2 separate regions of the Homo sapiens genome follow, and region 1 is linked to region 2. The links are contacts of gene promoters, found by promoter capture Hi-C in human tissues and cell types (Jung and others, 2019). All regions are on one chromosome and are shown on one strand. The core of a region is centred on a gene start or on the middle of the fragment in contact, and the rest is flanking DNA. Distances in the headings are between cores, read along the strand shown. Region 1 overlaps BUB1B (BUB1 mitotic checkpoint serine/threonine kinase B). Region 2 holds the start of PLCB2 (phospholipase C beta 2).

What was found. Contacts are between HindIII fragments. The study calls those that stand out against the background at their distance.
Region 1: a fragment that was not itself captured here is called in contact with the fragment with the promoter of PLCB2 in region 2 in 2 of the 25 tissues and cell types used here (lymphoblastoid cells and thymus).

The regions. Positions count from the first base shown.
Region 1 is chr15:40,182,445-40,187,213 of GRCh38, reverse strand. BUB1B (BUB1 mitotic checkpoint serine/threonine kinase B) reads right to left here. Exons shown (of 23, transcript NM_001211.6): 6 at 3,331-3,500; 7 at 1,835-2,049; 8 at 1,572-1,663. All of the region lies in intron 1 of LOC107984763 (a long non-coding RNA gene), which reads left to right. Among named protein-coding and RNA genes, the nearest start is that of BUB1B, 24 kb to the right of the region's middle. The HindIII fragment of the contact is 4,788 bases long and covers 413-4,769 here.
Region 2 is chr15:40,306,474-40,310,952 of GRCh38, reverse strand. PLCB2 (phospholipase C beta 2) reads left to right here and starts at 3,018. Exons shown (of 32, transcript NM_004573.3): 1 at 3,018-3,364. The coding sequence starts at 3,281. LOC112268152 (a long non-coding RNA gene) reads left to right here. Exons shown (of 3, transcript XR_002957721.2): 3 at 171-916. RefSeq lists a silencer at 685-888. The HindIII fragment of the contact is 11,638 bases long and covers 1-4,479 here.

The sequences.
Region 1 (4,769 bases), core at 1,557-4,056, 120 kb after region 2:
GTAGAGCTTGCAGTGAGCTGAGATCATGCCACTGCACTCCAGCCTGGGCAACAGAGCAAGACTCCGTCTCAAAAAAAAAAAAATTTGTTTTGTAGGGTCAGGTTTTTGCTATGTTGCCCAGGCTGGTCTCGAACTCCTGGCCTGGAGTGATTCTCCTACCTTGGCCTCCCAAAGTGCTGGGATGGCAAACGTGGGCTGCCATGCCCGTTGAACCAGGAGGTCGAGGTTGCGGTGAGCTGAGATGGTGCCACTGCACTTCAGCCTGCTGGGCAACAGAGCAAGACTCTGTTTAAAAAGAAAAAAAAAAAAAGAAAAAAAATAGCCTTCCCCTTGTCCTGAGCACTTAGGCAGAATTTTTGCTCAAAATCTTAATTATTATTTTTGCATTCCTAGCATGTAGTGGGAGTTATAAATTAGTTATGAGGTAACTCTTGCACTGGGACAGAATTCAACCTAGTATTAGGACTAGGGCTGGGCGCAGTGGCTCACGCCTGTAATTCCAGCACTTTGGGAGGCCAAGGCGGGCGGATCACTAGGTCAGGAGATCGAGACCATCCTGGCTAACACGGTGAAACCCCGTGTCCACTAAAAAAAAAAAAAAATTAGCTGGGCGTGGTGGCAGATGCCTGTAGTTCCAGCTACTTGGGAGGCTAAGGCAGGAGAATGGCGTGAACCTGGGAGGCAGAGCTTCCAGTGAGCCCAGATCGCACCACTGCACTCCACACTCCAGCCTGGGCGACACAGCGAGACTCCATCTCAAAAAAAAAAAAAAAAAAAAAAAAAGAACTAGGCAATGTTAAGCATTAGACTAAATCTCAGGCTGGCTTGTTTATTTAACCACCAGCTACTATACTTTTTCTTAAAAACAGAAATGCTAAGGATTAGGAAGAAAGAGGAAAAATATGTCCAGAAGGAAAAAGCAGGATAAGAGGGAAAACTATCATAATTTCTCATTACTATCAATGACAAAATGAGAACGTCTCATTTAAATCACATTATCTTTTCCCTACATCCCCATTATCCCATCAGACAAATCTTCTAACTCTACTGCTGAAGCCTCTCCCATCCAAGCTCCCTTCTCCTTTCATTACCACTACCCTGCCCAAATACCGCCCCTTAATATCCTTGCCTGAACTATTCCAATAGCTTATTTATGTATGTTCAATCCATCTTCCAGAATAGCCACCATTGATTTTCCTAAAGCAATGTTCAGTAATGAAAATATAAACCTAATTAATGTTTATTCCTTAATAAAATATTAACAAATGGTCTTTTAACCCTAACATACTCAAAGGAATACAAACATAAAGGATATACAAAATTTTGTCTGGTTACTTTTTTTTTTAATAAATAGAGACAGGGTCTCACTAGGCTGCCCAGGCTGGTCTTGAACACCTAGGCTCAAGGGATCCTCCTGCCTCAGCCTGTGCTGGGATTACAGGTGTGAGCTACTGCGCCTGGCCTGGTTACTTTCATCTTCATAAAGAAGAAACTGCCTTTGGGAAGTAGAATAGGTGCCTCTGCCCACCCTTAATAATTCCCACTTCAAAATATCCAAAAACCACACTCACATAACTGGCTGTCGTGCAGTCTCTTCCACATATGGAGTGAAACTGGGAAGCACAGCGGGTACAGCTATCAGTGAAGCTGTATTGCCACGAGGCTGGAGATGAAGAAGAAAACTAAAATTACCATAGTTTTATGTTCTCAGACAGCATATATAGACCATGGCTAAATATTCAAGAGGAATTAAAAGAGATGGTAAAAATACTTCTCTACCCTAAATGTGAAGTCTTTGTTGTGTCAGCAAAGCACTGGATCTAAGAGTCCTTACCCTGTGTTCCAAGGACCTGCCTGTGTTCCAAGGGCCTGCTTGCAGCTCATTCTCTTTGGCCCTGGGCATGGGGGGTGCTATCCATGGCTGGACTGTAGGCTTAGACAACTCTGCTGTAGAAGCCTCATCAGCATTTTCATCAAAAACAGTAATTCTACTATTATTTTGCATCTGTTGAGGAAATGGATTTTGGAGTCCTCTGTTCTGGCTTGGAGCTAGGAGCAAAAATATTAAAACCTCATGTAAAATGTTTCATTATTAACTTAGATGCCAGATAAAGTATACCTATTCTTCCTCAACTCAAGGACAGTATTTCCACTACAACAGAAAAAAAAAAAGAAATTTTAAAAATAATCTTTAAAAAAATTAATAAATCAAAAATAGAATCGTTTTATCCATTCTTTGTTACTTATATTCTGCCTTCTTTTCCCTCCTCCAGTCACCCCACATCTTTTATTCACAAATTTCCAAAAAAGACATTCTGCATCTTCCTTCAGTCATCATTATAACATTATCTAGTTTTATCAGAAACTAACCTAAGTTTTATTCTTCAGTTTTAAATTTTCTCTCAATGGAAATCAGCAGAGATATACTGGAACTAGAGAATACAAAATTAACCCATTTATTAGGGGTTTTCTCTGTTGTGGGGCTGGTTATTAACCAAGCTTCATCATGATCTGGATGAAATAGCCTTTGGGACCATACACTCCCTATATCCTAATTCTAGAACCACCAAGTAACATTCTGATTATTGATAAATTGATACCAGGAAAGAAATAAGAGATTAAAAAAACAGCCTGGTTTACATGTCTAACTGCTATAAATTTAGTAAATAAAAGCTTATTATTCTCTGTACCTTCTGCTCAATTTTGCTATGAACCTAAAACTACTCTAAAAAATAGTCAGTGTTGTCCAGATGCAGTGGCTCACACCTATAATCCTAGCTACTTGGGAGGCTGAGGCAAAAGAACTGCTTGAGCCTAGGAGTTTGAAGCTGCGGTGAGCTATGATTGCACTACCACGTTTCAGGCAACAGAGCGAGAACCTATCTCTCAAAAAAAAAAAAAGTCCATGTTAATTAAAAAAAATTATTGCTGATCTTTGGGTATATAGAGAGTCTAATTTCTGGTCCCAAAGGGCTCTGAAGGCAGGGTTCTTAACCATATTAGTATCATTCTCTGAGGCTTTGGTATATGTAAGCTTCACTTTAACAACACCTGCTATGTTACTACATATCTTCTTTCAACTAACAATTCAAACTCAGAAAATCTTGATGCTTCCTAAATGTTAGGTCTTTCTTAATTAAGACACAAAATTACTGATGCATTTTGATTTTACTGCACACTGTAATATTAGCTCTCCTTTGACTTCCTTCTTTTTGCTACTCAGTATTCAGCAAACTAGAAGTGTCCACAGGTATATTTATGTATTATCTTCTTACATGATTTTACCACTAGAAACTAACAGTTTTCCGAAATAACGTTTAACAAACTTACCCTTGAGAGCACCTCCTACACGGATGATTGGAGCTCTTGCTGTCTTTTTCCCTTTGCTCTTTAGTTCAGCTAGTGTGCTTCGTTGTGGTACAGAAGACTCAAAAACTTCCTCCTCTTCTTCTTTCTCAAGTGCCAACAGAGTTTGCCGAGACACTCGAGCTTGGAATTGTCTAAAGTAGCAGAATGCACAACTTTTAGTGAGGTGACCACTATTTTACCAGACTCAAAATTTCCAATTTGTTAAAGTAAACAAATTAGAAGAGCAGGCTGGGGGAAGAATGCAGAAATATCCCAAAGAACATGTTTATTCTCTCAGAAGTAAAGAGAGTCACCTTAAGATCATGAAAAGTTTTGGCTAGAATTATTTAACTCTCCCTTTAAATGCCCAAGTTTGACCAATTTAAATTATTCTGAAAATCACCATTAAGTTGATCTGAGGATCAGGTTAGGGTTATTAAGACTAAGATCACAGAGTTTATTAAGATTAGAGTTTTCCCACTAACTTTTTATTAGAAAACTTGACCCACCAATTGTTAACACTGTGCCACATCTATTTTATCACTGTGTCTCTTTTTCTATACACATGCATGCGCGCACGTGCACGCACACACATATACGGTTTCTCCTGACCTATATGAAATGAAGTTGCATATGACATGACATTGTACTTTAGCAAAGCTGGCAGAAGTTTGAAAAGTAAACTTCCTATGCTGCTGCCACAGTTTTAAGTATTATCAGAAGAGATTCTCCATTCCTACCACTGCTTCATTTAACTAGCCTTAAAAAGTATTATCATAAGGGTAAAAAAAACCCCAAAAAACCCAGAATAAATTGCAGGTGTTGGCCAAGATGGAGTATGCCCACTGTACCTTTTCTCTTTCTCTCACTGATAGGAATTAAAAACTATAGACCATATACAAAAAAAGCAACTAACTGAGGGCTCTGAAAAGTCAACAAAAGCAAGCAGACTGTGGAGAGGGGTCAAAACTTGAAGAAACAACCCACGCAGGATTGTTTCCTGTTTTTTTATTCTTCTATTTTCTCTTGTGGTTTTGAACTGTTGCAGTGGTGGTATGTGAATGTAAAACTCAGAGAAACCCCATCTTTCTGGCCTGAGGACTGGGAAAAGAGGACTCTGAAGGCCAAAGAATATGGGAGGAGAACTGCAAAGGAATGAGCTGAACAAGAGGATCTCCTAATTCTGTATGTGAATTGGCATACATCTTAGGTTCCCTCTTGAGCTATGCATGCACAGGGTAGATTCAAAGCAGCACAGAAAAGGCTTTGAGAACTGAACAATGATATAAACCACTGCCCAAGCCCCAGATTAACCCTTAAGCAGGACATGCATGGGACAGACCCAAAGCAACACAGCAAAGGTCTTGAAAACTGAACTGACAGTGGAACCAACAGCCACACAAGATGACAAAGAACTTGTA
Region 2 (4,479 bases), core at 1,769-4,268:
ATTTTTCCTGTCAGTGTCTGCTAATAAGTAATAATAAAATAACAATGATAACTCATAATGATAATGATAGTATTATTGAGCTCATGTGTAGGCACTGTATTAAGTACCATTCATTATATTCTTTAATCCTTGCAACATCCCCATGAGGCATTATTATCCCCATTTTACAGGTGAGAAGGCTGAGGCCCAAGAAGGTTAAGTATCACAAGATAAACCAGCTAGTAAGTGGCTGGGTTCCTAGAGTGGTGAGTGTGGCTCCCTTTGCCAGACTGGGAAACAGACACCATAAGAGCCATCTTCCCTCCAAAAGAGGGCCAGCCCTTGACCAAGATGGACAACAGGGTTCCACACTCCTGAAACCCACTGCTTCAACCATCATGGCATCAGATAAGAAACCGACCTAGTCTGATCCTCTTATTTGGCTGGCAGCTGTGGCACCTGAAGGTCTGAGTTCAACTTCTGCCATTAAACTTCTCTGATGAGCAAACTGGGAAACCAATGCATGGGGCTCCCACATAGCACTGGCAAGTGAACAAATGAACTTGGGACATATGTGCTGGGGTCCAGGTCACAAGCATGTCCCTTGTGGGAGGCAACATTTGGTTGAATATAAGTTCTTACCACATTCTATGGCCCAAGGCTCCCACTTGCCAAACTCTCTGGCATAGGTGTTCCCGTGGGTCACAAATGACAGACCCAACCGCAACTTCCAGGACATGCATGCTTTGAGTGCACCCAGCAGGGGGCATCCTTGCCCTTCCACTGCCCACCCTGGAGGGGTGAGACTGGCCCACTGCAGGGTTGCCCTCTACCCAGCTCAGCCCAGGAGCCCAAGGCCACATTTCCCAAACGGGGCATTCATGTAACTACCCTGATTTTCTCTACTATTATTTACATAACATTTTTCTTTGTCAACACAAATTTTCAAACCTAAATGTATTTTTAAAAGCAAAAAGCTCTTTGATGAAGATTTTCCGCTCTCCTGACTGCCTGGATTTTCTGCATTTTTGGAGCTAGCTTTGCAGGAGGTCAGGATGTGAGCAGGAGAGTACAGGCCCCCACTGAAGCTACAGTTGTGGTCCCAAGAACAGTGCAGGCAGTGACATCACTGAGTAAAGATGGGCAAGGCTTTGTTCTGTGGATTCGGAGCTGGAGATGGAAAGGAACAGAGTGAGGAGCCCTGAAATCCTGAAATGAGGAGAGGAGGCTGTCCCTTTCCTCCTCAGGCTGAGGGGGAGGAATGGACTGGTCTCTCCAGGCCCAAAGTGGAGAGGGGGCTGATGGCTACAGGACAGATGAAAGGGAGGGACTTGGGTGCCGGGACCAGGGCAGCCGCAGGTGACAGGTGCAGGGGCTTTGGGAAGGGACAGGGATTTCCCTTGCAAAATCCATTCAAACAGATATCGAGGGAACCTGATCCCAGGGAGGAACCCAGAACAGCATGGGCTGCCAGAGGGGCCCCCAGAAGGGCCCCAGACTGGAGGGAGGGAGAGAGGAGAGATGACGCTAAGGGACTGGGGGAAACGAGGAAGAAGAGTCCTCTGAATTGTTACCATTTCCAGAGGCTTGGTCAGGCCCTGCTCCGGCTCCATCCCCCGGCCCTAGAATTGCTCTTCTGCAGATTATTTCTGTGCTGGGAATTCCCTTAGCTCCAGCCTCCACTGGGCAGTTTATTATCTTAATTCCGCATGAAGAGTGTCCTCCCTCACCCTCCACCCTGCCCTGGACCAGACCTCCAGCCGCGACAATTCTAGGGCCTGGGTGAGGGTCTTACCGTTGTTGGGGGTATGCAAAGCCCCATGGGGGGGTGACCCAGGGCAAAAGGCCAGGCCCCAGAGGGGAAGGAAGTCTTGGGTAGAGCTCCCTGCCTCCCAGGCTGGGCTAAGAAGGGCGATAAGAGGAGCAGATTAGGCAAGAGGAAGTGGGCTGGGCTGAGCTGGACTGGTGCTGAACTCCCTGGGCCTGGGGCAGAGTGTGGGTCAGGCACCTGAGCAGCTGGGGCTGAGCCTGGCCAACCAGAGCAGCCATCCCTCCGCCCCAGCCCCGCTGCAGGCTGGGGTACACAGCAGAGGCGGGCACACGGAGGAGAGAGGAGAGCGCAGTGGAGGCAGGGGCTAGGGCTGCTCAGTGGGGGTCCAGGCCTCAGGCAGTCCCAGAGGCCCAGAGGTGGGAGTCTGGTGAGGTGGGTGAGGGGAGTGATTGCCTTGCCTCATGTGCCCCTCATTTTCTTTCTTTTTTTATTTTTTTCGAGATGGAGTCTTGCTCTGTCGCCCAGGCTGGAGTGCAGTGGCGCCATCTCGGCTCATTGCAAGCTCCGCCTCCTGGGTTCATGCCATTCTCCTGCCTCAGCCTCCCGAGTAGCTGGGACTACAGGCGCCGCTGCCACGCCCAGCTAATTTTTTGCATTTTTAGTAGAGACAGGGTTTCACCGTGTTAGCCAGGATGGTCTCGATCTCCTGACCTCGTGATCCGCCCGCCTCGGCCTCCCAAAGTGCTAGGATTACAGGCGTGAGCCACCGCACCCGCCCGCCCGGCAGGTGCACCTCATTTTCATGGGGGAGGAAGCATTGAGAAAGAGGAGCCGTGTGTTCAGCAAACTTTGCTTATTCAAAACACTCCATTCCAGCTGGGCCCTGTCCCCACCCCACCCCTGCCTCTACGGTGCTCCCAACCTTTGGGGTCAGATGCCCATGCTCTGGACCCTTCCCCTGAGGAGGTCCTTTCTCCTAGTGAGCTCCCTGTGCCTTCCCTCAGTCCAGGCCTGGGCAGCAGTCTCCCCAGCTGGTCTCCATGTCGTCCTTCTCCAGCCCTCCTGGGCCAAATCTGACCAGAGACCACCACAGGGACTGAGAGGCCCTGGCTCCAAGGCGACCCGGCCTCATGACCACGTCTCCGCTGTGAGCAGCGCAGAGAAGGAAGCCCAGAGCAGGAAGTGCTGAGAGGCACAGGGTGGGGCTGGGGGTGGGGGCGGGGGCCTCCAGAAGAGGCGGGGGCTTCCTGCTTCAGCCTCCTTGGGCAGAAGCAGTGACCACAGGCCCCCATGGCAGGCAGGGCGGGTGGGAGGAGGGTGATTTACAAGGCAGATGGGCCTCTGGCTACAGCTCAGTCCTGCACTCAGCCAGGGCCACCCCAGGGGCTATAAGAGCAACTAGATTTCTGGAGCAGCTCGGGGATGGGTGCCATTTGAGCCCAGCTTGGCTCCCCCTCCTGGCTGGCCTCCTTCCTGCCCTTCTGCCTGCCTGTGTCTGCTGAGATTCTGCAAAGAGGAACGCTTGGCACCATGTCTCTGCTCAACCCTGTCCTGCTGCCCCCCAAGGTGAAGGCCTATCTGAGCCAAGGGGAGCGCTTCATCAAATGGGATGATGTAAGTGGGGCAGGGGCCTCAGCTGCTGGAGCACCAGGTGGTGGGGGCCGGGCTGCTACGGGGCTTTGCTTGGGTGGGAGGATTGGTTTATGTCTCCTAGGATCCAGGCGCCTGTGTGGTTTGGCCAGGCAGCTGACACCACTGCTTGGATAAACAAACCTGGGATTAAGGGTGTATGTCCCCAGCTAAAGGGCTAAGCCTTGGTTCTAGGTGTGAGAAGTGGGTGAGCTGCCTGGGTGGTCACTGGAGGTAGTTTATTTGGGTCTGCTTCTCTTCTCCTTCAAACCCCCAAGAGAAGAGGAGGAAAGTGCACCCCAGAGCTGAGGCAGGCTAGGAGGAGAGGTGAGCTCGTCCCCGCTCCCAGCACAGATGTCTTGCCCTTGCTCCGGCAGGGCGCTCAGACCCAGCTCCTTCACCCCCTCCACTGGGCATCATCCTGTCCAGGGAAGCCTTGCTCTCCCCTGCGCTGCTGTGGGGGCAGCCACAAAAGGCCCCTGGACCTAAGTGAGAACTAGAGGCTTCTGCTCCCAGGGAAGGAGCTGATTTGACTTCTGCTACCCCTTGCTGGGCTCAGCATTGCTCCCCGATGCAGGCCTGTCAGCAAGGGAAGGGGAAGACACTGCTGCACCCTGCAGCCCTCTCTCTGCTGTGTCTGTTCCTTCCTACACGGGGCTGCTCCCAGGCTCTGGTTCTCCTGGCCCCTGAAAATGTTACCTTAGGCCAGGGATTCTCTTAGGCTGGAGAGAACAATATGGAGATTCTCCTTCAGGGAGGGGAGGCTGCTGGGCTCGCCCAGTCTGAGAGTTAGAGTGCTGGGCTTGTCCCAGGAAGGGAAATGAAGGCTTGGTGGGGGAGGGAAGACAGCCCTTAGTGCTGACTTGTCCACCTGATGGGAGGTGGGATGAGGGGGTCTGGGTCTAGGCCCTTCGGGGCTGGGCTAGGCTAGGGGATCTCGCTGCCCATGACTATGGGTTGGGGCCCTGTGGTGAGATGCTTCCTGCTTCCCTAGGAGTGATGTGGGGTTGGTGTAGCATGGCAGTGGCATGGAGGTGACATGCCCCAGGAGCCTGTGGAATGAGGGAAGTGGCTCAGAATGAAAAGCGAAGTGGCCTCTC